Linked DNA regions of Homo sapiens: regions 1, 2, 3, 4, 5 and 7 are each linked to region 6. Evidence: promoter capture Hi-C in 16 types of primary human blood cells and fetal thymus (Javierre and others, 2016). All regions are on one chromosome and are shown on one strand. Each heading gives the region's core, a stretch centred on a gene start or on the middle of the fragment in contact. The rest is flanking DNA. Distances are from core to core; before and after follow the strand shown. Region 1 has its middle 80 kb from the start of RRAGC. Region 2 has its middle 60 kb from the start of RRAGC. Region 3 overlaps RRAGC (Ras related GTP binding C). Region 4 has its middle 41 kb from the start of RRAGC. Region 5 overlaps RRAGC (Ras related GTP binding C). Region 6 holds the start of POU3F1 (POU class 3 homeobox 1). Region 7 overlaps GJA9 (gap junction protein alpha 9).

Region 1 (4,025 bases), core at 1,140-3,639, 730 kb after region 6:
TGAGGTCATCGACAGCCACTGAAAAATGCAGGGCAATGGGCAGGACTGAAGCCAAACTCTCCGAGTATTAATGGCTAATTGCATATTGAGTTGGGGAAGTGTTTTAGGAAAAAAAAAAAAACTTTCATCAATTTTTCTTCTGGGACAGTTTTAGGAATCACTGAAGAATAAGCTGCTCAATAGCTCTTAAGTGTGTTCGAAAGGGTGCTAGGCTAGGAGTGAGGACACTTGGATTCTTGTCCTGGACCTTCCAGCAGCTTGCTTTGGGACCTGCCCTGTTCTAACCTCCGCCTCAGTCACCTCTGAAGTGCCTCTGAGCCTCTGTGGCAGGTTGTATAGCATGGTGGCTGAATGGCAGCCTTTAGACCCCAAAGACCTGAGTTCAAGTTCCAGCTCTGCTACTTAGAAACTATTACCCTCTGCAAGTCCTTTAACCCCCTCTAAGCAAGACTAGAGTTTATTTTATGTGAATTGGAGATTCTAATTGTACTTACTTCACAGGACCTACCTACCTCTGTTCTCCCACCAGCTCTTCTGAGGATTAAACGAGGTAATTACACAAAGCTCTTAATGGGTTCAGCACAGGAGCACTCAAGAAGTGGTAGCTGTTGTGCTTATTTTGATTTGATAATTCTCTTGACATTGTTGATGGCAGTGACACCTGGGGAAAGCCCACGCAGACCATACATTTGACAGAGATGCATAAATCCTTCCAAACAGGCATGTCACCATGCAGAGGATGGTGAAGGCTTCTGTCCCAGGGCTTGATGGTGTTCTGCTTCATTCTGCTTCAAAATCTCTTTGAACCAGTCAAGCACCTTATCAAGGCCTTTAGCTCTAAACCTCAGTGGTGTTAAGTGCACTTTGTTACTTAACTGATGATTTCTATCCCCAGCAGGGGCTGACTTAACCTCAGAAAGAAAGAAATGTGCTGGTAGGTAGTGTTTGGGAAAGTGACAAGCTGTACTTTGTATCCAATCCTAATTTTTAAGTTTCTTTTTTTTTTTTTTTTGAGACGGAGTCTCACTCTGTCGCCCAGGCTGGAGCGTATGGCACAATCTCGGCTCACTGCAAGCTCTGCCTCCCGGGTTCACACCATTCTCCTGGCTCAGCCTCCCGAGTAGCTGGGACTACAGGCACCCACCACCACGCCTGGCTAATTTTTTGTATTTTTGGTAAAGACGGGGTTTCACCATGTTAGCCAGATGGTCTCGATCTCCTGACCTCATGATCCACCCACCTCAGCCTCCCAAAGTGCTGGGATTACAGGTGTGAGCCACCGCAACCGGCTGAAGTTTCTTTTTTAAAAGAAAAAAGAACTATTGCTCTTCCAGTGATTAAAATCCTGGGCTAGAGAATCAAACAGACTTGGATTTACATCTGGGCTCTCCAGCGCTCACTATCCAAGACCAAGGGTGAGTTTTTCATCCTCTAAAGCTCAGTTGTCTCCTTTGTAAAATGGGGATTAGAAATACCTCCTATCTCTTGGGGCTGCTGCTGCAATTAAGTATGTTGATACAGGTAAAGCTCTTGGTACAGTATCTAGCATCCAGTAACTGCTCGATAAGGGTGTGGTATGATTATTATTTTATTATTATTATCACCAAGGAAAACTAGTGGGGAGTTAAATTGGCAAACAAGCTGTTAAGAGGCCGTGAATATTCATTAGACAATCTAGTGTTTATCCAGTTGGTAGATGTTAGCCCAGCATAGACAATCTAAGTGGCTGCTGAATGGCTCAGACACACCACGGAGAGGTTTGATCCACTCACGCTGGTCCAGATTAACAGAATCCTAGCCTCCCTCCCAGCCCTGCCCTTTCTCCACTTGCTGAGTGACCATTCAAGTTCCTTCCCTTCTCTAGACGTCAATTTCCTCGCCTATCAGAGGCAAGGATTAGACTGGAGAGTCTTTAAATGTCTAAATCCCTATACTTTTAGGATTCCCATGAATTTGTAAGCAATTGTTGCCTAACCATGTCCCTAATTAAGTCTTTCATGGTTATTTTAATTAGCCACCTTTAAACCTTAAAGTAGGTTTGGGGAGAAATGATGTATTTAAATTTATTTATACTCTGCCTTGGAACTTCTTGTGGACACAACACAAGCTTAGGGACAGACAGCCTGGGCCTAGGTCCCAGGTCTGCCACTTTCTAAGTGTACAGCCCTGGGAAGCTCAGTCTTCCTCTCCTGGCCTCAGTCTTCCCCTCCTGGGAAATGGAAATGGCAGCTTCCCCACTGAGTGATTGCAAAGATTACAGGGGAGAAGACTAGCTCAGAGGAGGGCAAAGGACCTAAGCCAGTCCACTTGGAGTGTCTCTCAGGGCTTTTGCCAGCAAGGTGGGAGCAGACACTCACTCTGCTCTACTAGATATGCACCTGGGTGTTTGCTCAGCATCTCTGACCACCCACGAGGGTAGGATCTGCCTGATAATAGAATCAGCACAGAGGAAGCAGAGAATGAAACCAAACCTGAGGACAATGATGGAGCCCCAGGGCTCATACATGACGTCTCATATCACCTGAGACAAAACGCTTTTTTTTCTTCACAAAGAAAAGTTAAGTGAGATTTTATTTTTTCCAACGCAGTTATCACCTTCTAATATAAATTCATAATAAATTTATGAATGTATTATGTTTATTGCTCACTGTCTATCTCTCTTCACTACAATGGAAGCTTCATGAGAGTAGAGGTTTTTGTCCCTTTTGTTCACTGATACATCCCTAGCAGCCAACACAGTGCCTGACACATAGTAGATACTCAATAAATATCTGTTTTTATTTGTTTTTGTTTTTGTTATTTTTTTAGAGACTGGGTCTCGCTATGTTGCCCAAGCTGGTCTTGAACTCCTGGGCTCAAGCAATCCTCCTGCCGCAGCCTCCCAAAGTGCTGGGATTACAGGTGTGAGCCACCATGCCCAGCCTCAATAAATATCTGTTGAATGAATGGATGAAGATACTTTGAAATCTGGAGAGTGCTGCAAATGTCTTTAATAATAGCTATAGATACTTTCTCATAATTTTTTTTCATGTGCTGTTTGGATTTGCCATTTAGCTGATAACCTGAGACCAATCCAGACGCTCCTCAGACCTAAGACAGTGGCTAACCTTCACTGCCTCATCTCAAAAGGCAAAACATGGCAACAGGTAACTGGGTCTTTGCATTTGGAGGTCCCACCCTCTTAGAGGCTGATCCTAAAGTGCTGGGGATCTCAGGATCTTACCCGTGACTCTTTTCTCTTCTCATTCCTCATGCTGTCCCGCAGTGAGCCCATCCTCTCCCAGGGTTTTAAGTACCTCTCCTTATGCTGAAGCATCCCGGGCTTCTTTCTCCAGCCTTGACTGCCAGAACCAGATCCCAAGCTGCTTGCCTGACTTTTCCACTTGGCTGAACTGCACACAAACCCAGAAGAAAATGAGAACACAAGGCCCCTGATAAAAAAAAATGTATTAAGAATTTCAAGATGGTGATAGAAGAGCATACAAACACACTCAGAGCCCTCCTGAGCACAGGGCGACCACCCGGGTCACACACCCATGAAGCTGGCCTGGACTGCAGGCACTTCACACTCAACATGTCTGAAATTTTCATCTTCCTCCCACCCCAACATGCTCCTCCTCATAAGTTCCTCATCTTAAAGCACAGCCTCCCCATCCATCCAGTTACTCAAGTTAGACAGCAGGACCTCACTCGGTTGCGATTACTAAAGCCTGTGCCTCTCCTTGACGTCTTTTGCTCCCTGAACCCAGGTCATACCTGTAACAGCCTTCTAATCACACACTGCCTCCTGTCTCACATCCACTCCAAACCATTTTCCACACTGTAGCCAGAGTGATCCTCCTAAAGTACAGATTCTTAAGTCCAGGCTCCTTGGCATGGCAGAAAAGGCCTCAGTGATGTGACTTCAGCTTCTTCTTCAGCCTTCCACAGCAGCCACTTGAACTTTGGCTAGGTCCTTCCGACCAGCCATTTCTGATGCTTGAAACACCCTTGCTGTTCCCTGCACCCCAGTCCCTTTCATCAGG
Region 2 (4,151 bases), core at 992-3,491, 750 kb after region 6:
AGGCATGCGCCACCACGCCCAGTTAATTTTTTGTATTTTTAGTAGAGATGGGGTTTTGCCATGCTGGCCAGGCTGGTCTTACACTCCTGACCTCAGGTGATCCACCTGCCTTGGCCTCTCAAAGTGCTGGGATTACAGGCATGAGCCACTGCACCCAGCCTGCTGCAGCTTCTTTGAAGGACAAATTGGCAGTAAGTTTCACCTTTTCCAACTTACGTGTCCTTCAACACAGCAATTTTACTGATAAGAATATTTCCTACAGATATGATCACATACATGTGCAAAAAGTATGTACAAGGATGTTTGATGCAGCTTTTTTATGTGATCACCAGAAAAATGAAAAGAAGGAAAACCTGAAAAACCTAAACATTCATCAATAAGATAATTAAATACATAAGAGGTATAATGAATATTGTATAAAAGACCCTGGCAAGACACACATATAAAAGCAAATGCATGAGGAACCCCCGACAGGGAAGCCAGCGGTGGAAGCAAGACTTCTCAATGCATTCATGTTTCTACTACTTTGATCTTTGAATTTTTGAATGTACATGCATATCTCAGAGATATTGCAGGTTTGGTTCCAGACCACCACAATAAAGCAAATATTACAATAAAGCAAATACTGCAATAAAACAAGTTGCACCAATTTTTTGGTTTCTCGGTGCATATCAAAGCTATGTTTACACTATCCTGTAGTCTATTAAGTGCAATAGGATTATGTCTATAAAACCAATGTCTAAACCTTAATTTTAAAATGGTTTGTTGCTAAAAAATGCTCGTGATCACCTGAGCCTTCAGCGAGTCGTCATCTTTTTGCTGGTGGAGGGTCTTGCCTCCATGCTGATGGCTGCTGACTGATTAGGGTGGTGGTTGCTGAAGGTTGGGTAGCTTTGGTAGTTTCTTAAAATAAGACAACAATGAAGTTTGCTGCATCTATTGACTCTTCCTTTCATGAAAGACTTCACTGTAGCATGTGATGCCATTTGATAGCATTTTGCCTACAGACGAACTTCTTTCAAAATTGGACTTAGTCCTCTCAAACCCTGCTGCTGCTTTATCAACTAAGTTTATCTGATATTCTAAATCTTTTGTCATCATTTCAACAATGTTCACAGCAACTTCACCAGCAGTAAATTCCATCTCAAGAAACCAAGAAATTATAAATGCTTGAGGTGATAGATACATTTACCCTTATGTGATTATTACACATTGTATACCTGTATCAAAATATCTCATATACCTCATAAATATATATACCTACTATGTATCCACAGCAGTTAAAAATAAAATTTTTAGAAAAGAAACCACTTTATTTGTTCATCCATAAGAAGCAACTCACCATTCATTAAAATTTTATCGTGAAATTGCAACAATGCAGCTACATCTTCAGGCTCTGTTTCTAATTCTAGTTCTCCTGCTGTTTCCACCACACCTGCAGTTACTTCCTCCACTGAAGTCTTGAAATCCTCAAAGTCATCCATGAGTGTTGGAATCAACTTCTTCCAAACTCACATTGATGTTAATATTTTGATCTCCTCCCATGAGTCACACACAAATGTTCTTAACAGCATCTAGAATGGTGAATCCTTTCCAGAAGGTTTTCAATTTACTTTGCCCAAATATACTGGGGAAATCACTATCTATGGCAGCATTCATCTCCTTGTATATTTCCATCAGAGCTCTTGAGTATCTAGGTGCATTGCTGGTTGGCATAATAATTTGAAAGGAATCTTTTTCTGAGCAGTAGGTCTCAATGATGGGCTTAAAATAGTCAGTAAACCACATGCTATAAACAGATGTGCTGTCATAAATAGAAAACATTTGTTTTGCTATTTCTAGAGCACAGGCAGAGTACATTTAGTAACTTTTAAGGGTCTTTGGATCTTTGGAAAGGTAAATGAGCATTGGCTTCCACTTAAAGTCGCCAACTGCATTAGCCCCTTGTAACAAGACAGTCTGTACTCGGAAGCTTTGATCCCACGCATTGACTTCTCTCTAGTTTTGAAAGTCCTATATGACAGCCTCTTCCAATAGAATGCTGTTTTGTCTACATTGAAAATCTGTTGCTTAGCATAGCTATCTTCATCAATTATCTTAGCTGCATCTTCTGGATAACTTACTGCAGCTTCTAACATCAGCACTTGCTTCACCTTGCACTTTAACGTTATGGAGAGAACTCCTTCCCTTAAACCTCATGAACCAACTTCTGCTAGCTTCTAACTTTTTTTCTGCAGCTTCCTCACCTCTCTCAGCCTTCACTGAATTGAAGAGGATTAGGGCCTTGCTCTGGATTAGGCTTTGGCTTAAGAAAATGTTGTGGCTGGTTTGATCTTCTACCCAAACCACGCCAACTTTCTGTGTGTCAGCAATAAGGCTGATTTATCATTCATGGAGTAGCACTTTTAATTTCCTCCAAGAACTTTTCCTTTGCACTTGCAACTTTGTCAACTGTTTAGACAAGAGGCCTAGCTTTTGACCTGTTTTGCCCTTTGACCTGCCTTCCTCACTAAGCTTAATCATTTCTAGCTTTTAATTTAAAGTGAGAAATGTGAGACTCTTCCTTTCACTTGAACATTTACAGGCCATTGTAGGGTTATTAATTGGCCTAATTTCTATATTTTCATATCTCAGGGGGTAAGAAGGCCCAAGGAGAGAGAGAGAGAGAGACCAGGGGATAGCTGGTTGGTGGAGGAATCAGAACACACACATTATTGGATTAGGTTCACAGTTCATAGTACCCCAAAACAATTATAATAGTAACATCAAAGATCACTGGTTACAGATTGCCATAACAGATATAATAATCATGAAAATTTTGAAACGTTGTAAGAATTACCAAAATGTGACACAGAGACACAAAGTGAGCACATGTTGGAAAAATGGTGCTGATAGACTTGCTCAACACAGGGTTGCCACAAACCTTCAATTTGTTAAAAAAAAAAAAAATGCATTTTCTGTGAAAGTGCAATAAAGCAAAGTGCAATAAAAGCTGGGGCAGGAGCTCCCCAGGTGCAGCTACAGCCATGCAAGCCACAGCTGCAGAACCCAGGCATCCCTGTGTTCTCAGGGCTTGGGAACAGGCGGGATCCCTGCCCTCCTGGGCACAGCTGCAGCTGCCCAAGTAGTGGCTATGGACCCAGGCCTCCCTGTGCTCTTGTTGGGGCTGGGAGCAAGCAGGAGCCCCACCTTCCCAAGCGCAGCTGTAGCTGCCCAAATGGAGACTGCAGACCCCGGCGTCTCTGCACTCTTAGGAGCCCAGGAAGGACCCCTCTGCTCTCACAGGCTTGGAAGTGCCTGTTCCCACTGCTTGGCTTCTCCCTGCTGTCAGTGCCCGCCCCAATCTCTGAGCAAAGTCGGGGTCGAGCTAGGGCGCTGTCGCAGCCTGGCCAGGTGTGCACACATTCAGGGCAATGCTGACATGCCAGCCCCCCTGCCGCCTCAGCCCGCTCCAGTCTGGGTATTGATGAGCACAGGAAGGAAGCCAAGGGGGTCCTGAGGGCAGCTTGATGCTGGCCTGTAGGTGACCCTTGGCACCTATAGTCTGGATGCCATGAATGGCAGAGAGGCAGATAGGTTCCTGGGTGGAAGGGGTGGATCCCCAGTGAGGCCCCACCTTCAGGCCAGGGAAGGCCTGAAGGCTGGGAGCTGGGCTACCAGTCCCGGGGACCAGGGAAACAGACTGGAAACTTGCGGTGCCTTTTCTGGGCCTGCCCATGGTGACCCATGGACCAATCGGCATGCATTTCCTTCCCTCTGAGGCCCATCGAAGCCCTAGGCTCAGCCAGAGCTGAGCAGACTTCCTGACCACCAGCTGCAGAGAGGAGCTACCCATTCCACAGCCTCCTCTCTGCTGACAGCTGGGCAGACATCGGGACTACCAGTTGCAGAGAGGAGCAACCCACACCAGGGCCTCCTCTCTGCTGGGAGCTGGGGAGACAATGGGAGTATCTGCCTACAGAGAGGAGCAACCCACTCTAGGGCCCCCTTTCTGCTGAGAGCTGCAGAGATGACAGGACGACCTGCCTGCAGAGAGGAGCTTCCCACTCTAGGGTCTCCTCTCTGATAGGAGCTGAATACTCGTTGGGACACCCTGGCTGTGGAAAAGAGCTACCCACTGAGGGTCTCCTCTGAGCTGTTCTATCACTCAA
Region 3 (4,284 bases), core at 498-2,997, 810 kb after region 6:
GTTTTAAAAGCTAAGATATATTACAGTCAGTCCAGGGGGGAGGTGGAAGGGAGCCAGCAGGAAAAATAAAAATGAAAAATAAAAAGAGTCAGTCCAGATTTGAAAGTGCACTCTCTGTATAAGGCTGTTCCTACTGAGAAAGATACTGTCTAAGACTCAAGCTAAAGACTTCCACAACAAATGTGACAGATTCACTTCACTGATGCAAGGCGGGGAAAAGTAATGAAACCAAGAGGAAGGAGTCCCAAAGCAGATTTATGCCATGAAGAAACAGCCTGACTCCAGTCTCTTGAGATGAATTTGGAAAAGCACCAGTGGAAACACTTCACATGACTTCAATCTCCAGGAAAACGCAAAAAGTGGGTAATTTCTCAATATCAGGCTCCCCAGACAGCCTGGAATTCAACAACAAGATCAAAAACATAAAAGATGTGGCAAAGGGCACACAGGTAGCAGAAAGCTATGGTGTTTGTAATGACAGAGATGGGAATACATTTACACCTTGTTCAGGGCTTTCATATCAAACACACATGTTGTTACCTAAGATGGAGTTTTTCTAGCCCAGCATCTGCAAGGTCATCATTGGCCCTTTGATGAATGTCCCTCTGTGTTTCTATTTTGTGATCATCAGACAGACCATCAACTTTGTGAATAAAAACCTCAAAATTCATGTCTGGGTTAACTTTGTAGGCTTTAGAAACAGTAATGTGAAGTCTTGTTAAAGCCTCCATGTAGTCATCCTGTAAGTCAGAACAAAATATTTTTTAAAATAAATCTTACAAAAGCCAAGTAATGAGTTAAAGCCTCAAACCACCTCTTTCCCCAACCACAGAAAAATACTATCCTAATTATCATCAATATTCAAACATTCAAATATACTATACTACTAAATAACTCTTCAATTGTCTCAAGATAAAAAAATTCAATTACCAAGTTAATGCTTGTAATTTTTAATATTAATTTAAGAAAGAAAAAAATGATATGAACATTTTTTCCCAACATAATTTTTTTAAGTAATCCCAGCTCTGCCATTTATTCAGTGTGTCACTTTAAGCAAGCTGCTTAAACTCTGATCTCAGTTTTCTCATCTGTAAGATCAGAATTACAATACCTACCTAACAATATTGTGAAGCTTAAATTAATTAGGTCCTGTACGTGAAGGCACCCTCTGTAGAGCCTATCACTCAGAAAGCATTCTTAACTAATGCTTAAGCTTATAAAAAGTAAGCTTCTTAAAGGATAGGGACTTGCCCCATTCATCTCACTGACTGCCACATGCTAGGCCCTCCATAAATGTTTGTTGAGCTAAACTCAATTTTGACAATTAAGTAAACTATTCACTCTAATATCTACTGACTCAGTTCTCATATTCCTCTTTATGTTATGGGATGGGATATTTTCAGGGAATAACATCACTATTATTATAAAATTATTATAAAATATGGCAACCAATAAAAGTGGAAAGCCAATGTTAGCTGCTCATCAACTAGGACTCAAGGATGTAAACCATATCTCCTAATCATCTGATATTCTGTACCTGCACAATGCATGTCTGCTCCCAAAGCACTCTGCAACTGCATCTCTTACACTGTTAGGGAATCTACTGCCAAAGAGATAAGCTGCAACCACATGACAAAGAAGATAAACAACTTTCCTTTGTTTCTACATCTTTTTCCCACCAGGAAAGAGGAGTAAACACATTACTGACTACCTGTGCGTCAATGACGTATATCAATGCTCCTGTTCCCCTGAAGATCATCTCATAGTCAAAGGTTGGGTCAAAAAAGTCCATTTGCCCAGGAAAATCCCATATCTGGAAATTCACAAAGGAGCTATTGGAAATGTCATCCTTATAAATCTTGTTGGTACTTTCCAAAAAGAGGGTCTCGTTGGGTGACATCTTATGAAACACCACCTGTTAAAAGAAAACAGGCAATTTTATGACTATTAAACTTCAGAATTTAAATTTAAAATTCCACCCTGGTTTAACATTTAAACATTTGATCCCACAAAAAAAAATTTTTTTTGAAAAGTAGAAACTGAATGGTGAATCCATTGGTATTCACTATCCCTTTATTTTTGACAAAAGAAGACACCAAATTAATTTCCATTAAATCTATTTTGGAGCTAAATCTTTTCTCCTATGTTCTATGCACCATACTCAGTACTAATAGTAGCAATCTCTATCACCTCCATTAGTTTTTCTGGGGGAAAGCTAACATTAATTCTACCAAAATCTGCTTTAAGATTATAAAAGTCTTACAGCTAAAGCTTAAGAAGTCTGGTTTATTCAAAAATTACTTGAATGCCTACCTCAGGCTCTGAGGAGTAATTTAAAAAGTGAAACAGACTGGACTCTGCCCTCACTGACTTTGCAGTCTAAGAAGGGCAGTAACTATACCAAGTAGAAAGTGAAAACGTCCAGGGGGAGGCCACGGGGACTGACAGGGAAAAGATAGCTCTCATGAGAAAAGAAACGTAAAGGCAATTGTTAAGAGTCACAATAATCGGCCCGGGTGCGGTGGCTCACGCCTTCAATCCCAGCACTTTAGGCGGCCGAGGCGGGCGGATCACTTGAGGTCAGGAGTTCGAGACCAGCCTGACCAATATGGTGAAACCCCATCCCCACTAAAAATACCAAAATTAGTCGGGCGTGGTGGTGCACGCCTGTAGTCCCAGCTACTTGGGAAGCTGAGGCAGGAGAATCACTTGAACCCAGGAGGTGGAGGCTGCAGTGAGTGAAGATCACACCACTGCCCTCCAGCCTGGGCGATGAGCAAGACTCCATAACAAACAAACAAAAAAAAAAGGATCACAATAATCACAACCTACACAGTTCTAACATAAAACTACTTTGCCTCTTACTGTCTAGAAGAGAAAAGTGAACAATTACTCTCAAGGTTTTCTCAGTAACAAATGTGAATAACTGAAATTAGTTTACTAAAAACCTACAGTCAACGTACCCAAGTTTTGCTGTAGAGGTGAAAATCAAGGTAAATAAAACACAGTACTCCAGCAAACCTGGAAGAACGCTGCTTTTTAAAAAGATCCCATCTACAAAATATCACAGATTCAGAAAGAAAAAAAAATCACAGATTTATTTTGGATAGGCCTTTGCAACAGAGTGGAGAGGTGAAAAGACCAGGTGCCTGCTGATACTAGTTTTATTACCAGCTCACTCCGCGTATAATGGGTTTGGCTGATGGAGGAAGTCAACCTTGCCTCTATTTAACCCTCACTAAACAGTGTAGGCCAGCGTGGTGACTCACACCTGTAATCCCAGCACTTTGGGAGGCCAAGGCGGATGATCACTTGAGGTCAGCAGTTCGAGATGACCCTGGCCAACATGGTGAAACCCCGTCTCTACTAAAAATACAATAATTAGCCGGGCGTGGTGGCGCGCGCCTGTAATCCCAGCTATTCGGGAGGCTGAGGCGGGAGAATTACTTGAACCAGGGAGGTGGAGGTTGCAGTGAGCCGAGATTGCACCACTGCATTCTCCAGCCTGGGCGACAGAGCGAGAGACTCCGTCTCAAAAACATAAACAAACAAACGTGTACAGCCCTCCATTTGTTCATGAAGGCCCAAAAGTGAAAACAAACAGACTAGGTCTGCAAAATATTCTCAAAGTCTCAGATTTTTAAAAACACACCCCTACAGGGGGAACAGCACCAGTAATTACATTCACCAGGCCACAACTACTGAAATGGGTGCAATCTCACTACCCAATTCCCAGTAATGCTACAGCGAAGTCTCCTTCACATCAGTAGCGAGAATTACAACGCCCAGTGTCTTAGTCACAACTCTTCCTGACGCTGCTCCCTGGGGCTCTGCTGGGAATCCCGAAACACTCAGGTCACCTGAAGTGAGAACAAATCAAAACGGGCCAGGGGAGGGAGTCCACGAAGTTCTCCAAGTGAGAACTGGAGAGTACGTCTCAGTTTCGTAAATGACACAGGAGCTGGGTCCCAGGGGGCGGAGGTCTTGGGCGGTGCCACCGGGCACCTGCCTCCCGGCAACCAGTTTCGCCTTCAGCGCTCCACTTGGCTTCAGCTGACTTGGGCGTGGACACAGAGGTCGGGGTCCCCGCGCGGGCCGCGCCTGTGCGCTCGCAAGAGTGGAAGAGAAAGTGCGGAGGGACGGAGCGCAGGCGGGCCCCGGCCGCCGCCCTCCCGGGCGTCCCCGCTACCGGCCACCTGAGAACCGGGGAGGGGGCGGGGGACTGGGCGCAGCCCTGCTCACCTTCTGGATGGAGGACTTGCCGCTGCGCCGGAGTCCCATGAG
Region 4 (4,021 bases), core at 205-2,704, 770 kb after region 6:
CAGGCTCTGAGGAGCCGAGGCGGTGGCAGCAGCGCGAGGAACAGAACACGCTGCAAACTGCTTGGCTACCCCTTTACAAGACTGACGCCGCCGACACAAGTTTTTCCATTTCCCCAAACAGCCTCTCCGGCTGCCAATAAAGACGGCTGCTCTAGGCCCTTGCGTGCTGTCAAAGGGGTACTTCTCCAGCGGCTTCAGAGGCGGCTTGTTCGCCCAGAGCTGGAGCTGCAGGCCCCTAGAGAGAGCCACCTTCCCCCTTGGGCTGTTGGTGGGCTCCCTGCGACCCTGGCCAATTGCATGGCTGTGTGGAATAATTACCGGGTAATTAGATGGCAGGCATGATAGGTGCCGGGTACTGGTTTCCAAGGGGACTTCGAAAAGGTATTCTGCCGCCCTATGCCTCCTCCCAGTACAAGGCACAGTTAATGCCTCAGATCCCACACCGCCTCTCTCGTGGAAGTGTGCTCTGAGCCACTGGGGCCTAAGCCGAGTTGACAGGCTCCATTAGAGAGCGACTCTGTCATGGAAATTGTGATCTTAACAGAGGGACATGTGGCAGATACCAATTCCACTCACATCCTTGTACTACGTGGCTTTCCCAGGGGGCTACTGATGGGATCAAGGGATGTTCACACCACCAGTCCCCAACTGCCTTCATCTGACCTGACCTGTACGGCCCAGACCGGGGAAGACAAGGCCTGGAGAGCCATCCTGAGGAACAACACCCTTCAGTGCCCAACTCTACTCCTAGGACCTAATGGCCCATGCACTCGGACAAAGCTTCAGATGATTTTCAAAAGCAATGCAAAGTATAGAACTTTGCAAGGACTTTGGGATCTAGAGGATGTCTTTTGAGAAGGCCTGGCAGCAACAAGAGTCCTGGACTGGGAAAGCTGGATGCCCCAAGTGACCTTGGCAAAGGCCTTCCCCCTCTAGGCCTCAGTGTCCCCACCTCCAAGGGCCAAGACAAAGTCCAATTTCTCAGAATCTGAAGCACAGTTCAGGTCTGTTGCTGCCCAGTGCACAAAGATGACCTGTAGGCCAGGTCAAATTCACAAAATTGAGCCCCTTCCTCCTAGAAAAGAAAGAAGCCACATCCAGAGAAGAAGCATGAATAGAGAAGGGAGGTGAGAGGGTCCTTTGTAGACCTCCCCTGCACGTCAGGCAGATCCCAGCACTGTAATGTCAGACCTTAAAGGCAGAGAACCTACCACTCTGAGGCCCAAAGAAAGGGGCCAATGAAACGAACCTATGAATTCATATCGGTGCACACTCCAGAGACAACAGGACTGATCCCAGTCCCCTGAGTCCCACCTCCCCTCTGATGTAGGGAAGGCACGGTTTGCCCAGCACCACCACCTCCTCTGCCCACACAGATGTCTCTCTCCGATGAGGCCCAAATCATCCGTGTGCCAACCTCCGAGACATGCCAATCTCTGCTCGCCCACAGGTGCCGCCGCGGGGATGGGCGGGTGCCTCCACCTGCCATTGTGGGTTCTGGGTGGAGGTCGCTGGGGCTGAGGCAGGCAGGGACCGGCCCGCGGCCTCTCCCAGCTAGGGAGAGACTCCACATGCCTAGGTCTGGAGCAGGAGAGGGGAGATAGGTAGAAGGCTTGACCATGGGTCACGTCTAAAGGGACCGGATCAGGACACAGTCAGGCGGCCTCCTGCCGCGGATTTCACCCCACGCGGTCTCGCCCCGACCGTCCCCGGGCCCTGTGCGCGCGGCCGGCATTGCCCAAGAGGGGCTGAAGGCGCCCCCGCCCGGCGGAGCCTACCCCAACACGGAGCCCAGAGCGCCACGCCTCGGACCCCGCTCCGGGTAAGCCCGGAGCAAGCCCCCGCTCCGTTCCGGACAGGGGAGCCTGGGCTGCTTTCTGGAACTCTTTCCTTGCTTTGGTCACTGGGGCCCCGGAAGCGTGGGCTAGGGTGCCAGCGACAGCGCCTTCCGCGGAGCGGCGCGCTGGCCCCTCCGGACCCTGGGTGGGCGGCCGCCCGCCCGCCTCGGAGACCAAGGCTGCCATCTAGCGGCCACGCGGGGCGCCGTCGGGGACCGGAGCCGGGCCGAGCGCTGGGGGCTCCCGGGTCCGCGGCTGCGCGGCGGGGTTCCCAGACCCGGGACTTAGGCGCAAGCTTCAGAGCGAGCTGTGTGACCCTGGGCACGCCCAGCCCTCTTTGATCAACCGTCCTTTCTCGGTAAAACCGAGAGGATACAACTCCTCTGCTCGGGGTCGTCGGGAAACGCAGGACCGAGGGACGGCGCCCCCTCCTTCCCGAGACCACCCGCCCCATCCACTCCGCACCGCACTCCCGTCCAGGGAAGTCTTAAGGAACCCAGTCCCCCTAGACGAGAGGTGGAAGGAGGCGCTGGGGAAATCCTGCAAAGCAGGAATCCGCACTGAACAGCAGGATCCTTTTCCAGGAATTGTAAACCCAGAATTGTAAATAAAATGCTAATGATTTATTCGTGCTCAAACGCCGGGGGCTGCGTCGCCGCTTTTGAAGACAGCTCCAAGCGTGGCTTTCCAGGAAGGCAGGCCTCCCCGCGGCGCCTTCCAGGGCTCCCCGGGGCCTCCTCCCTGGCCGCGGGTCCGGGCTGGGGGACAGGCAGTGGTTCTTGTTGGAGCGCTCCCAACCCGTCCTTCACTGAGACCCGGGTGGTGGTGGAGGAGGTCTTTTTCCTTCCATCCACAGCCGAGTCAGACCCCTCAGCATTCACCCATCATGCATGCAACCAATGCTTCCCCATCGCCAAATACCTACTAAACCCTTAGCTGACCATTGGCAGTCAAAAAACAATCGTGAGAATCACATCTGGTGGGGAAGATTGACTCGATGAATAATCCTACAAATAAACGCGTGCTTCTAAATTACAGTGTCCGGGATAGGGGTAGGGGTGGGGCTGGGGAAGGTAAATACAGTTTTTTAGCTTCCGGGATGTTTTCCATCAAAGTTCTGAGAGCCTGAAGGGGCGCTGAAGGGGCGCTGAAGGGATCGAGTCTAGCCTTCTCTTGTGAGTCTTGACTACCCTACATATTTAAGGTATTTCATTAAAGGGTGAGCTTTAAAAAAATAATAAAATAAATAATTCAAGCAATATGCATTTGCATCTGTGGCTGCCATGGTAGCTCTCTGATGCCTGACCTGGCTGGGGAAGGTGGGAGCCCGGGGGGGGCGGGTCACTGATCTTAGGCAGGAGGAGGTAGAAAACAAGGACTTTCCTTCAAACTATGCAGCCTGTCCAGCTGACCAGAGCAGCAGAGATGGCTCAGTTTTCAGCTGCCTCTCCTGAGTTGACAGGAGGCATGCAAGAGACCCCAGAAGTGGGCTCAGAGCTACCTAGAGAAGCTTCCGTGGTCACAGGGCCTCCACCTCAGGGCCAGGAGACCTGGAGTGGCCCTACCCAGCTCTCCCACAACTCCCTGCAAAAGCACATTGCAGGCTTTGTTTGTTTTCAATAAAAGCTTCTCTTTCCCACACTCCCTTTATATAGTTTCTAGAGAAATAGCACGTCTGGTTAATACTGACCTTCCTAAGGTCTTTTTGAATGTAAGACACAAATGTATCAAGGATGATCAAGGTTCCTACCTCTACCAGCAAGCTGATTTTTTGCATTTGGTGGGCCTCCATCAGACCACCAAGGAAACAGTCATAGATTGTACTGTGGAGGAAATTCAGGCGTCCCGCGGAGGCCTAAGCTGAGTGACCTTTATTCTTGTGTTCACTGGACAAATGTTTATTGATCTCCGCCTATAGACTGACTCCATCCTGGGCCTTGGGGATTTAAGACAGATAAAACAACTCCTGCTCCCAGTGGGCTCACAACCTGAGTCAGGTGCCTCCTTTGCAAAGTAAGGAATTCTGGGATTGCCACCCCTTGCCCCTTGGACCTCCCACCACCTCCACACACACAATTATATGTCCCTTAAATTAGTGTATATTTTGAGGGAATTCATGAAACAATCAGGTCCCTGAAGCTTAAAAAAAAAAAAAGTGATATTTGGTCAGAGCAACCAGGAAC
Region 5 (3,873 bases), core at 830-3,329, 790 kb after region 6:
AAAGTACCACAGTTGACACTTGGTGTCAGAATACTAGAGACAAAGTATGTAAAACAATGCCTGTTGCAGCACCACGTGCTCACTCCAACTCCCAGTGGACAGTCCCCCAATGCCTTAGGGTCACTCGTGGTCAACCAAATGCAATCAAGAAGCTCGATAGCTTAGAATAAAAGGTCTGTAGAGGCTGATATCAAGATTAAAGTAAGCTAAACATTTCAGTGACACAATGAGTTTCTCCCCTAGAAGGGGACTGTGGGAAAACTTTTAATTCCCTTTGTTACACTGAGCATGATCATTTATCTAATGCAGAAGAAAGAACCCAGACATCTGGTACTCAGAACATAGGTGCAAAAATTTTCTTCCATTTCAAAGTTTTTTCAATACTTCCGAGGGAACTAATGCAACCACCGTTGAGCCTTGCTCTCCACCTGATGCAGCATAAAATTTTCTCTCATTTCTTCAATATAGGAATGTCTTGCTGCAGACTATGTGTCTTCCGAGTTAGCAAGCAAATGCATTTAAAAGGTCTTAGTTGTGCAATGTCCAAAACTGAAATCTGAGAGGCAGTGTTAGAACTTAAGCAAGGCAGAATTTTTAGAGTCTACTCAAATGAAAGCCTAAGTGAAGCATATAAAAATTCAGTCTTTTCTATTATTTTCAACTGGAATTGATGGCAACATTCCCTGGTAAGGATGGGTAACTGGTGTTATCTCCAGGTCCAAAATATCCCAACTACTTAAAGGGGACCCAAAAGAGGAGAAACACACACTTGAGTTCTGTGGTCTCCAGAATTTTTTTTTTTTTTTTTTGCCATTTTCAAAAAAGATATAGTAGCTTCAGTTGTACACCACCAGTTGAAGGGGTTTTCATCCAAATGAGAAACTCTACCCCTTGTCTCTAGTGGAACAGGCACCAGATTCCCACAAGCAGCAGCTCCCATGTCCTGTAGCACGTGGCATCCGACCCTGGAGTGAAGAGTAAGCTGGCACAGAGCCCCGACGCTGGGATTCAGACTAGATGGCGTTTCGTGGCGTGCCATTGTGTGTCAGCGCTTTCAGACTGGAGGCACTAGTCTGGTGACCACAGCTCCTGTGAGAAGTCACACCCACCTCAAAAACCTCATGAATAGCTTTTCGGAAACAGTGGAAGTTGTAGTCTATTAAACCTGCAGGAAGGAAAAAGAAAAGAATGCCTCCTGAATTGTCAATTGTGAAATTTTATATTTGGGTTTGCAGCCAAAAATAACTCGGATAAACACTGGTTGGAAATTCTTAAGCCTCCAAACTAGATAGCAACTTCTTCAATCGTAAGAACAGCTGGTCATCGGTCAGGTGCAGTGGCTCACGCCTGTAACCCCAGCACTTTGGGAGGCCGAGGCGGGCAGATCACAAGGTCAGGAGATCAAGACCATCCTGGCTAACACGGTGAAACCCCGTCTCTACTAAAAATACAAAAAAAATTAGCCGGGCATGGTGGCGGGCACCTGTAGTACCAGCTACTCAGGAGGCTGAGGCAAGAGAATGGCGTGAACCTGGGAGGCAAAGCTTGCAGTGAGCCAAGATTGCACCATTGCATTCCAGCCTGGGTGACAGAGCGAGACTCCAACTCAAAAAAAAAAAAAAAAAAAGAACAGCTGGTCATCATATATATCCACCATCATAACGTTCTGCTAGAAAACAAATGCGATTGCAATTAGACCATCACCTTGGCCAAATTAATACCTCTGGCATCCAAGTTTCAAATCACTCAATTCACATTCAAGAAAAGTAAAATATTCAAATACACTGTGTGGCCTGCTTGAACATAGTGTGATCTTTCAATAGTTTATATTTGATTTGATGAAAGTCAGTAAATACTTATTACACAGCACGATAGAGGGTACAATATGTCAAAGGAAACAGCAGATATGGTCCATGACTTCCAGACAGGATATGCTAGCTGAGGCATAAAGCCAAAATACAAGAAACAAACCAAAACAATCTGGTGTCAAATTGACTACAACTGTGAAGGAAATCCAAAGAAAAAGCCAAGTGCAGGGCAAAGTAATCAACTGAAAACTTCAGGGACAAGAAAGAACTTGGGGAATACAGACACGATTTAATTAGGCAGAAAAGGGGAACAAAATCACAAGAAAACTGCAGGGACCTGGCCATGAGAATACAGCACAGGTGGAAGACAGGAAAAAAAAATGGTCTGACTGGAGAGTGGGACATCAGAGAACTCTTGGTAGGAAATACTAAGAATCAGGTCTGAATAAGTAGGTTACAGCCAAATTAAGGTGGACCTTCAGACTCAGAAAAGAAACAAACTATAAAAGACAAGTTTTGATCAATTCAACTACATTAAAATTTATTTCTGTGCCAAATGTAAAATAAAAGACAATCAAGGAAATTTGAACACTGGCCAGATATTTGATATCATTAAGTCACTGTTAATTTTGTTGTTTATTGTTTTAAAAACCACTACCTTTTAGAGATACCTACTGAAATCTGCAGAGACAAAATGATTTCATGTCAGGCCTTTGCTTCAAAATAATCCAGTAGGGAAAGTGGTATAAATATGAAACATAATTGGCTATAATTTTGATAACTACTGAATCTGGGCAATGGATTAAAAAGCTTTTATTATACTGTTTTCTCTACTTTTTTATATATTTGACAGTTTCCACAATAAAATAAAAAAGCTTAATAATCTATAATAACTGAGAAGCTCTCCAGGAAACATGATTGAAGTGTGTGGGAATGAGGGCTGAACCCAGGAGCTGAATGCATAGGGACTCCTCGTGCTGCTCCACCTTTGTATACACCTGAAAATTTCCATAAACAAAAATTTTTTTTTTTTTTTATAGACAGGGTCTCACTCTGACACCCAGGCTAGAGTGCAGTGGTACAATCATAGCTCACTGTAACCTCAAACTCCTGTGCTCAAGCAATCCCGCCTCAGCCTCCTGAGTAGAGAGGACTATAGGTGCAAGCCACCACACCCAACTAACTTTTTAATTTTTTGGTAGAGACAGTGTCTTGCTATCTTGCCCAAGCTGGTCTTGAACTCCTGAGCTCAAGCGTCCTCCCACCTCAGCCTTCCAAAGCACTGAGATTACAGGTGTGAGCCACCACACCCACTCTAAAAAAAAAAATTTTTTTAAGATTAAAATGGTTAGGAGCCAGGCACAAGTGATGCACACCTGTAATCCCAGCTATGTGAGAGGCTGAGGTGTGAAGACTGCTTGAGCTCAGGAGTTCAAGACCACCCTGAGCAACACAGCAAGATTCCCATCTCAAAATAAAAACACAAATAAAAAAATAAACTAACATAGGCTGGGCGCGGTGGCTCACGCCTATAATCCCAGCGCTTTGGGAGGCCGAGGCAGGCAGATCACAAGGTCAGGAGATCAAGACCATCCTGGCTAACACAGTGAAACCCCATCTCTACTAAAAATACAAAAAATTAGCTGGGGGCGTGGTGGCGGGTGCCTGTAATTCCAGCACTTCAGGAGGCTGAGGCAGGTGGATCACGAGGTCAGGAGATCGAGACCATCCTGGCTAACACAGTGAAACCCCTTCTGTACTAAAAATACAAAAAATTAGCCAGGCGTGCAGGCGGGCGCCTGTAGTCCCAGCTACTTGGGAGGCTGAGGCAGGAGAATGGCATGAACCCGGGAGGCGGAGCTTGCAGTGAGCCGAGATCGCACCACTGCACTCCAGCCTGGGTGACAGAGCGAGACTCTATCTCAAAAAAATAAATAAACAAATAAACTAACATAGAGAAAAATAAGGAACTGCTAAGAATCAGTGCAAAAAAAGATAAATATATATGGAACAGGTAAAATGTGAAAGAAGAAACCTGAATAGCCATGAAAAGGTACTTGCCATG
Region 6 (4,326 bases), core at 1,283-3,782:
CCGGCCTCCCCTGGCATCCCGCATCCCGGCGGGCTGGAAAGGGAGCAGAGGGAAGCTGCAGGGAATCAGGCGGAGGGTTCTCAGGGAACGGCTTATTTCTACAGCTGGTTAAAAAACAATCTCTCTAACTTTTCCAAGTTTCGTTTGGTGTGGCCAGGAGGGCAGGGCCCCGCGGGGAGCAGGGGCCGCGCTATGCGGCGGTCGGTCTGCAGCAGGGCAGAAGCCCCTTCCCGTCTGGGTGTGTGGGAGCGCAGACCCCTCCGGCGTGGCCGGGAACCAAGCCGGGGCTCGGATGAAACGAAACGAAAAATGAACACTCGAATTTTTTTTGTTAGTTTTTTTTTTTTTTTTTTGCTTTTTTTTGGGGGGAGGGTAGGGTAGGGAAATATAAGGGGAAAAATAAATTAGGCTAGATTAAAGCTTTGGCTATTTCCTGCTTTTATACACAGACGCGGCTCTCGCGACCTCCCCTCCGGGGCCCCGATAAATACAGTATACTGCGATTTAAATTAAGGGCGCGGGCGGAGTTAGAAGGACCCCAGGAGCCGAGAGGCTCCACGAATAAATAAAAACCGTAAAAAACCAAGCCCGGAGAAAGGGGAAAGCGGGGTGGGGCGCATCCTTATAGGAGAGAAGAGGCGTGTAGCGAATAAAGTGACAGCCCCCCACCCTGGACCCGCAGGCTCAGGAGTCCACGCGGGGAGAGGGGATGGAGAACTCTCCTCGCTTCGTCCTCTCTCCCGGGGAATCCCTAACCCCGCACTGCGTTACCTGTCGCTTTGGGGAGGCCGCTGCCGGGATCCGGCCCCGAACAGCCCGGGGGGGCAGGGGCGGGGGTCGTCGAGGGGATGGGGGCAGAGAGCAGGCGGCGGGCAGGATGCCCGGGGTGAGTTGGCGAGTTCCGGATCTTCGCTCCTCTCTCCCGGGGCTCGGGCGACGCAGCCTACCGGGCTGTCTTCGCCGCTCACCGGAGAGGGTCGTCCGGGTGTTTGGTTTTGTTCGAAAGTTTCTGGGCTTTTTTTTTTTTTTGTAAAATCCAAAGCAACCGAACAAAAAGAGTCCAGGCCGCGCGGGCGGGCTGCGCGCCCGCGCCCTGCAGCGCGCCGGCGGGGGCCCGGCCCGCGGGGTCACTGCACTGAGCCGGGCAGTGTGTGGTGGTGGTGGTGGTGCAGCGCCGCCGGCGGGGGCGGTGGGGGCGCGGAGGGTGGCGATGCGCCGCCCCCGCCAGGCCCTAGCTCCCCAGGCGCGTATACATCGTCCATGGGCGGGTGGCCCGCGCCGGCCGCAGGGGTCATGCGCTTCTCCTTCTGCCGCCGGTTGCAGAACCAGACGCGCACCACCTCCTTCTCCAGCTGCAGGCTGTCTGCCAAGCCGGTGATCTCGTGCGCCGAGGGCTTGGGGCACTTGAGAAAGTGGCTCTCGAGCGCGCCTTTGACCCCCACCTCGATGGACGTGCGCTTCTTGCGCTTGCGGCCCTGCGCCGCGATCTTGTCCAGGTTGGTGGGGCTGCCGCTGGACGAGTCGGTCTCCTCCAGCCACTTGTTGAGCAGCGGCTTGAGCTTGCACATGTTCTTGAAGCTCAGCTGCAGGGCCTCGAAGCGGCAGATGGTGGTCTGCGAGAACACGTTACCGTAGAGCGTGCCCAGCGCCAGCCCCACGTCGGCCTGCGTAAAGCCCAGCTTGATGCGCCGCTGCTTGAACTGCTTGGCGAACTGCTCCAGGTCGTCCGAGCTGGGCGCATCCTCGTCCGAGTGCTCGCCCACCGATGAGCCGCCGCCGCCCGCGCCCGGGTGCAGGTGCGCCGCCGCCGCGTGCAGGCCGCCCGCGTGTGCATGTCCGTGTGCGTGTCCGTGGGCGCCCAGATGCGGCGGCGGCGACGGCTCCAGCTGCGCCTCGTGGCCATCCTCGTGCAGCGCGTGGTGCAGGCCCGGCCCCGCGCCGCCACCGCCCGCCGCCAGCATCCCGGCCAGGCCGCCGCCGCCGCCCCCCGGGTAGGCCGCCTGCGCGTACAGCCCGAGCGGCTGGGGCTGGTGGCCCCCGCTGGCCCCGGGCGAGGGCGACATGGCCGGGCCCAAGTGGTGCGCTGTGCTGCCCTGCGCCCATGCCGCGCCCGCGTGGGCCGCCCCCTGGTGCACCAGGCGCGCGTGGAAACCTCCGCCGCCGCCGCCGTCGTCGGCTCGGCCGGTGCCGCCGCCGCCTGCCTTGCCGTGTTCTAGGTGCGGGCCGCCGGCCCAATCGCCGCCGCCGCCTCCTCCCGTGGGTAGCCACTGGGGGTGCGCTAGGCCCACGGGGTGGCCCGCGCCCGCGCCCAGCCACTCGTGGTGCATCAGCTTCTGCACTTCGCGGTACGCGGCCCCTGCATGCAATCGCTCCGCGGCCGCCGCCGCCGCCGCCGCCGCCGCGGCGTCCGGGTGCATAAGCGGCCCGGTGCCCCCGGCTCCGCCACCGGGGCCCCGCGGCAGGTACTGCGCGGTGGTGGCCATGCCGCCCCGCGCCCTGCGCCGCGCCGCCGCCGCCGCTCCGCTCCGTCTGCGGGCCCCGCCGCCTCGCTCCGCCGGCTTAAAGCCCCGACCCGCTCGGCGCTCCGGAGCCCCACCCCGCCCGCCGCCCATTGGCTGCCCGCGGAGCTGCCTCCCGCCTCCCCTGCCCGGCCCCCGCCCCGCGCGCCCGCCCGCCACCCTGCCCGGCCGCCCAGAGCTCTCCATTGGGCGTCGCTCCCGGGGTCCCGCGCGCCGGCCGTGCTGATTGGCCGCTGGGGCTTCATTCACGGCCCCCCTACCGTCCGCGTACACACTCACGCCCCGGGGGCGCGGCCGCCACGTGGGGAGTGGCGCGGGGGTGGCCCTGGGACCGCACCCCCTCTCGTCCTGGCTGTGTGGGCCCCGCTTTCCCCCAGCGCTGGAGACTCCGAGCCCGGCCGGTCCCACATTCCACGCGAGCTGAATTCCCGCCCGCATCCCGCCCGGGCAGCAGGGATTGCCGGCTCCGGGAGGCGCTCGGGCTCCGAGAAGCGGCTCAGCCCCGCGCCCCTCCCTCCTCAGTACCGCTGCCGGCGGACCAGGATTCCCGCGGGTCCTGGCGGCTGCGAGCGCGAGGCGGCGCGGATTCGCGGCTCGGTTCCGGCGCGACTGCTCACCGCGCCCGCCTCGCCTCCCGCGGCTGCCAGCGTGCACTGGGCGCTCCTCGGCGCGTCTGCCCGGCCCGTCTCGGCTTTCCTTCTCCTTCCTCTAGTCCCAGCGTCACAACTCCGCCGACCTCCTCTGCCCTGAGAGCGCGTCCGGTGCGGGCGGAGTCGGACGGACTCTGGCTTCACGCCTCGCGCGGGCACACCTTCTCCCGGGCACTGAGGCCCAGGTGAGTACCGCGCGGGCAGCTGGGGCTGGGACGGCGGGCGGCAGCGGTTCTACAGTCCTACGCGAGCCCCTGGTACCCGGCCGCGCTCCGGGGTTCCAGAAGGAGAAGATCTCGAGGTGGAGACTGTGGCTCCGGGGAAAACGCTGCTGGCAAGGGCGCTAGTTGGGGGTGGACGTTGGGCCCAGGGGTATCTGACCTGCGCCGCTGCAGCCTTCTCGCTCCTTCTCCCAGCTTGAACGGCTCATCGGCTGTGGTCGTGGTGGGATCACGCCCCGGGAGAGGAGAAGGATGGGCTCAGGGAAGGGGCTCGGGCTCTCCAGAAATCCGGCGTGCAGGCCGGGAGCTGTCCAGCCTCGCTAAGAGCCCTGGGCTAGAGTTTGCCCGGACTTGCCTGGAGCTGCTGAAAAGGGAATTGAGATTGAGGAGGCCTTGTTGGAAAGGTGGGCAGTGGAATTTAGCTACCTCCTCACGCCCCAGCCCTTGAGGACTCCCTGAAGGATCTTGAGTGGAGTCGGACCTCACTGCAGTTCCTTTGTGCCTTCTTACCCGACCTTGGGCCCCAGGCTGAGGGTACTGAGCTGTGTTTTCTCCTCTTCCCCACACCGAGGCTTGGGTCCCAGGGAGTCTTCAGCTGCCAGTCCTCCCTCTTTTCTCTCCTGGATCTAGCCTCAAGTGGATTTATAGCTTACAGGGCCCTGGGGTCCCAGATCACAGAACTGAGCTGGGGGCCCACCTAGGGCCCCACTGGGCAAATCAGGTCTGTGGAATAAATCCTTAGATTGAAAAAAGTTGCTGGGGGCTCAGGTGGCAGCTGCCATTGGAACGATCCAGGGCGGCTGGGACAGAGTTGACAGTGACAGGGGTCACCCTGGGCACAGACTTTGATCATGTGGGCCCTGAATGCCCTAGGACCAGCCAGGGAAGGAGTGGGACAGAGCAGGGCCCTTATCCTGCCATTGGCCACTGTCCTGA
Region 7 (4,299 bases), core at 342-2,841, 830 kb after region 6:
GGAGTCGCTTCAGTGAATTTGCAGATGTGCTCTGGTATTTGGCTACATTTTGTTTTGCCTTGTTTGCATGGAATTCATTATGTTCCTTCTTCAACTTGTATTTTCCCCAAAGCCCTCTTTTAATCTTTTTAAAACCTAGGTGGAAAATTTCAAGAATGTTTAAGAAAAGTGAAATAGTGGCTATAGATTGCATAAATAATAGGAATATTGTCTTTTCTGTTGGTCTTGAGACAAAACAGTCGATTATATTTGGACACGGGTGGCCATGGCACTTAAATAGCGGCTCTAAGTGAAATCCATATAAAAGGTACTGTCCAATCATGAATCCAACTTCAACCACAGAGCGAGTGAAAATGTGTATCACATAAGTGCAAAGCAAGGTTCCTCTGAGTGGAGCTTTATTTAGTTTCCTTTTCTCCAGCTGACAAAGCTCTTGCTCCAATCTCCTCCGATCCCTAGGCATTTCAAACTCTACCTCCTCCAGTTCTACTCTTAACTGAGCTTTCATCCTTTGCCTCTCTTCCTCAAGAACTCTCAGTCGGTACAATGCATGGCCCATGTAGACCAGGGATGGTGAAGACACAAATATCACCTGCAGAACCCAGTATCTAATGAGGGAGATAGGAAAGGCCTGGTCGTAGCATACATTTCTGCAGCCTGGTTGTTCTGTATTGCAGATGAAGCCAGACTGCTCATCATTCCAGACATCTTCAGCTGCTACACCCAGAACAAGCATTCGAAATATGAACAGGATGGTGAGCCAGATCTTTCCAATCATGGTGGAGTGGATGTGAACTTCCTCCAGAGTATCTCCAAGGAGATTCCAGTCCCCCATGTTTATTTAGTCAGCCATCTTAGCTCTGATCCACATCAAATAAGAGGCAGATAAATTCTTCCATTCTGAAGGGAGCACTATTTCTTAAAGCAAACCTATGGTGAAAATATAACAATATGTCACTTCTATATGCTGGTTGCTTTACTTTTTCCCTAGATAGCTGTGGGGTTTTTTCTTTGTTTGTTTGTTTGTTGAGACAGAGTCTCCCTCTGTTGCCCAGGCTGGAGTACAGTGTTGCAACCACAACTCCCTGCAGCCTCAACCTCCCAGACTCAAGCGATCATCTCCCCTCTCAGCCTCCTGAGTAGCTGGGACTGCAGGTGTGTGCAACTACACCCAGATAATTTTTTTTATTTTTTTGTAGAGACAGGGTCTCACTCTATTGCTGCAGCTAGTCTTAAACTCCTAGACTCAAGTGATCCTCTTGCCTTCACCTCCCAAAGTGTGGGAATTACAGGTGTGGGTCACCACACCTGGCCAAAGTGTGAATCTGTTACCAATAATATACTTAAATGTCAGGAATTTAAAATCACTTATATTTAGACATCACAATACAATGAAAAAAACATGATACCTGGAGGAGGAGTGTATATATTCTCTATTAAGAATATAGGCTGGGCGGGGTGGCTCACACCTGTAATCCCAACACTTTGGGAGGCCAAGGTGGGTGGATCATTTGAGGTCAGGAGTTCCAGACCAGCCTGGCCAACATGGTAAAACCCCGCCTCTACTAAAAATACAAAAATTAGCCAGGCGTGGTGGCAGGCGCTTGTAGTCCCAGCTACTCGGGAGGCTGAGGCAAGAGAATCGCTTGAACCTGGAAGGCAGAGGTTGCAGTGAGCTGAGATCAAACCCTTGACCTCAGATGATCTGGCCACCTCGGCCTCCCAAAGTGCTGGGATTACAGGCATGAGCCAATGCGCATGGCCTAAAATTATATTCTTTTTTTTTTTTTTTTTGAGACGGAGTCTCACTCTGTAGCCCAGGCTGGAGTGCAATGGCATGATCTCAGCTCACCGCAACCTCCACCTCCTGGGTTCAAGCGATTCTCCTGCCTCAGCCTCCTGAGTAGCTGTGATTACAGGCATGCACCACCATGCCCGGATAATTTTGTATTTTTAGTAGAGATGATGTTTCTCCATGTTGGCCAGGCTGGTCTCGAACTCCTGACCTCAGGTGATCTGCCCACCTCGGCCTCCCAAAGTGCTGGGATTACAGGCGTGAGCCACCATGCCCAGCCTATTGTTGTTTTTCAACAGAACTTTTGGAAAGGTTTCTAAAACTAGTAACCTGATCTTAACCTTATTTATTAAGATTATTTGATATAAAAGTTATAACAAAGTCAATTTCTTTTTCCCCAACATGCCATTACTGGCTTGAAAAGTCAGTGATTTTTTTTTCTTTCTTTCTTTCTTTTGGGACAGAGTCTTGCTCTGTCGCCAGGCTGGAGTGCAGTGGCGCAATCTCGGCGCATTGCAACCTCCGCCTCCTGGGTTCAAGCGATTCCCCTGCCTCATCCTCCTGAGTAGCTGGGATTACAGGCGCCTGCCAACACCCCCCGGGATAATTTTTTGTATTTTAGTAGACACGGGGTTTCACCATGTTGGCCAGGATGATCTCGATCTCCTGACCTCGTGATCCACCCGCCTCAGCCTCCCAAAGTGCCAGGATTACAGGCATGAGCCACCGTGCCCGGTCAAAAAGTCAGTGATTTTTAAATCTCATTTATACACATAGGAAAACGAATATGCTTCATTTGATAATTCAGTAAGATATGGCATTCAGTGAAACCAGAGGAAACAGATCTGGCTGTCATAGGAATTTAGATTAGTTTTTTTAATCCAAATTGAAATAAATTTGAAATAAATTCTGGTTTCTTCCTGGCAATTGGTGAACATTTTCAGAAATTCATCTCAGTAATATTTATGAATATGTATAAAGTACTTATTATACTTTACTATGAAAAAGTATACTTTTTTTCTTTTTTTTTGGTGGGGGGAGACAGAGTCTCACTCTGTTGCCCAGACTAGAGTGCAGTGGCAGGATCTCAGCCCACTGCAACCTCCACTTCCCAGGTTCAAGTGATTCTCGTGCCTGAGCCTGCCAAGTAGCTGAGACTACAGGCAAGTGCCACCACGCTTGGCTAATTTTTGTATTGTTAGTAGAGACGGGGTTTCACCATGTTGGCCAGGCTGGTCTTGAACTCCTGAACCTTGAGTGATCCACCCGCCTCGGCCTCCCATAGTAAGCCACCGCGCCCAGCCCAAATTTTGTAAATTCTTACGTTAAAATGAACTTCAAGCCCAGCACAGTGGCTCACACCTGTAATCCCAGCACTTTGGGAGGCCGATGCGGATCACCTGAGGTCAGGAGTTCGAGACCAGCCTGGCCAACATGGTGAAACACTGTCTCTACAAAAATACAAAAAATTAGCTGGGTGTGGTGGCAGGCATCTGTAACCCCAGCTACTCAGGAGGCTGAGGCAGGAGAATCACTTGAACCTGGGAGGCAGAGGTTGCGGTGAGCCAAGATCGCGCCATTGCACTCCAGCCTTGGCGACAAGAGCAGAAACTCTGTCTCAGAAAACAAAAAGAACTCCAAAAATTCTCAACTATTTTATGGTACCAGAATCTTTTTTTTTTTTTTTTTTTTGAGACGAAGTTTCCCTCTTGTTGCCCAGGCTGGAGTGCAATGGCACAATCTCGGCTCACCGCAACCTCCACCTCCCAGGTTCAAGTGATTCTCCTGCCCCAGGCTCCAGAGTAGCTGGTATTACAGACATGCGCCACCATGCCCAGCTAATTTTGTATTTTTAGTAGAGATGGGGTTCCTCCATATTGGTCAGGCTAGTTTCGAACTCCCAACCTCAGGTGATCCACCTGCCTCGGCCTCCCAAAGTGCTGGGATTACAGGCGTGAGCCACTGCGCCCGGCCTTATGGTACCAGAATCTCATTATAGATATTACTTGCAATAGATTGTTCACTGGTATGGTGGCAGTATTATGGAAACTTTCACTGTAGCAGTATTTGACCTATTTAAGACATATAGCTGCTCTCTTGAAGGAAGCAGTGGGGCAAGTTATAATTTAGCTGCTTGGATTATTTGCCGGCAGATTGCATATTAAGGTTGGTATCCCAGGTTATCTCAGAGGAAATATACCCCAAAGGAAAGATTTTAAAAGTGAATATTTTCATTATTTTTCATTTAAAATATAAATGTATGTCCTGTCCCCTTTATATAAAGGGAACTGTTACACAATCAAACAAACTACTAAGATACAAGATGTGTTCATCACTAAAATCCTATGCGGTAAGTATGTTGTTTCCCCCATCTTACAGATGAGGAAACGGAAGCACACCTTAATTTACCTGAGGTCACACAGCTGGAGCTGGCATTCAAACCCAATCATTGTGGCTTTAGAGTCAGCTCCTTAAATTTTTTACTAAACTATTATTTTTCCTCT

The links. Contacts are between HindIII fragments. The CHiCAGO score rates a contact against its expected background, and 5 or more counts as called.
Region 1: a fragment that was not itself captured here is called in contact with the fragment with the promoter of POU3F1 in region 6 in 1 of 17 cell types (endothelial precursors); the score reaches 5.4 in endothelial precursors.
Region 2: a fragment that was not itself captured here is called in contact with the fragment with the promoter of POU3F1 in region 6 in 4 of 17 cell types (M1 macrophages, endothelial precursors, megakaryocytes and 1 more); the score reaches 7.7 in M1 macrophages.
Region 3: a fragment that was not itself captured here is called in contact with the fragment with the promoter of POU3F1 in region 6 in 9 of 17 cell types (M2 macrophages, megakaryocytes, M0 macrophages and 6 more); the score reaches 11.4 in M2 macrophages.
Region 4: a contact is called between a fragment that was not itself captured here and the fragment with the promoter of POU3F1 in region 6, in 9 of 17 cell types (megakaryocytes, endothelial precursors, erythroblasts and 6 more). The highest score is 19.1, in megakaryocytes.
Region 5: a fragment that was not itself captured here is called in contact with the fragment with the promoter of POU3F1 in region 6 in 8 of 17 cell types (megakaryocytes, M2 macrophages, M0 macrophages and 5 more); the score reaches 14.4 in megakaryocytes.
Region 7: a fragment that was not itself captured here is called in contact with the fragment with the promoter of POU3F1 in region 6 in 1 of 17 cell types (M2 macrophages); the score reaches 5.0 in M2 macrophages.

The regions. Positions count from the first base shown.
Region 1 is chr1:38,777,908-38,781,932 of GRCh38, forward strand. No RefSeq gene overlaps it. Among named protein-coding and RNA genes, the nearest start is that of RRAGC, 80 kb to the right of the region's middle. The HindIII fragment of the contact is 569 bases long and covers 2,106-2,674 here.
Region 2 is chr1:38,797,788-38,801,938 of GRCh38, forward strand. No RefSeq gene overlaps it. Among named protein-coding and RNA genes, the nearest start is that of RRAGC, 60 kb to the right of the region's middle. The HindIII fragment of the contact is 542 bases long and covers 1,971-2,512 here.
Region 3 is chr1:38,855,168-38,859,451 of GRCh38, forward strand. RRAGC (Ras related GTP binding C) reads right to left here. Exons shown (of 7, transcript NM_022157.4): 1 at 4,243-4,284; 2 at 1,712-1,915; 3 at 541-740. Among named protein-coding and RNA genes, the nearest start is that of RRAGC, 2.5 kb to the right of the region's middle. RefSeq lists a silencer at 4,135-4,284. The HindIII fragment of the contact is 1,043 bases long and covers 1,227-2,269 here.
Region 4 is chr1:38,816,311-38,820,331 of GRCh38, forward strand. No RefSeq gene overlaps it. Among named protein-coding and RNA genes, the nearest start is that of RRAGC, 41 kb to the right of the region's middle. RefSeq lists enhancers at 1-56, 57-556 and silencers at 1,934-2,163, 3,054-3,221. The HindIII fragment of the contact is 1,353 bases long and covers 779-2,131 here.
Region 5 is chr1:38,838,540-38,842,412 of GRCh38, forward strand. It overlaps RRAGC (Ras related GTP binding C), which reads right to left. Exons shown (of 7, transcript NM_022157.4): 7 at 1-1,165. The coding sequence ends at 1,014. Among named protein-coding and RNA genes, the nearest start is that of RRAGC, 19 kb to the right of the region's middle. The HindIII fragment of the contact is 1,074 bases long and covers 1,543-2,616 here.
Region 6 is chr1:38,044,261-38,048,586 of GRCh38, forward strand. It overlaps POU3F1 (POU class 3 homeobox 1), which reads right to left and starts at 2,533. Exons shown (of 1, transcript NM_002699.4): 1 at 1-2,533. The coding sequence starts at 2,483. The coding sequence ends at 1,128. It overlaps MIR3659HG (MIR3659 host gene), which reads left to right and starts at 2,874. Exons shown (of 5, transcript NR_168386.1): 1 at 2,874-3,354. RefSeq lists a silencer at 2,594-2,923 and enhancers at 2,836-3,336, 3,337-3,837. The HindIII fragment of the contact is 4,132 bases long and covers 419-4,326 here.
Region 7 is chr1:38,875,264-38,879,562 of GRCh38, forward strand. It overlaps GJA9 (gap junction protein alpha 9), which reads right to left. Exons shown (of 2, transcript NM_030772.5): 2 at 1-930. The coding sequence starts at 835. RRAGC-DT (RRAGC divergent transcript) reads left to right here. Exons shown (of 2, transcript NR_186075.1): 2 at 678-963. The region is part of intron 1 of GJA9-MYCBP (GJA9-MYCBP readthrough); the gene reads right to left. Among named protein-coding and RNA genes, the nearest start is that of MYCBP, 4.1 kb to the left of the region's middle. The HindIII fragment of the contact is 8,897 bases long and covers 1-4,299 here.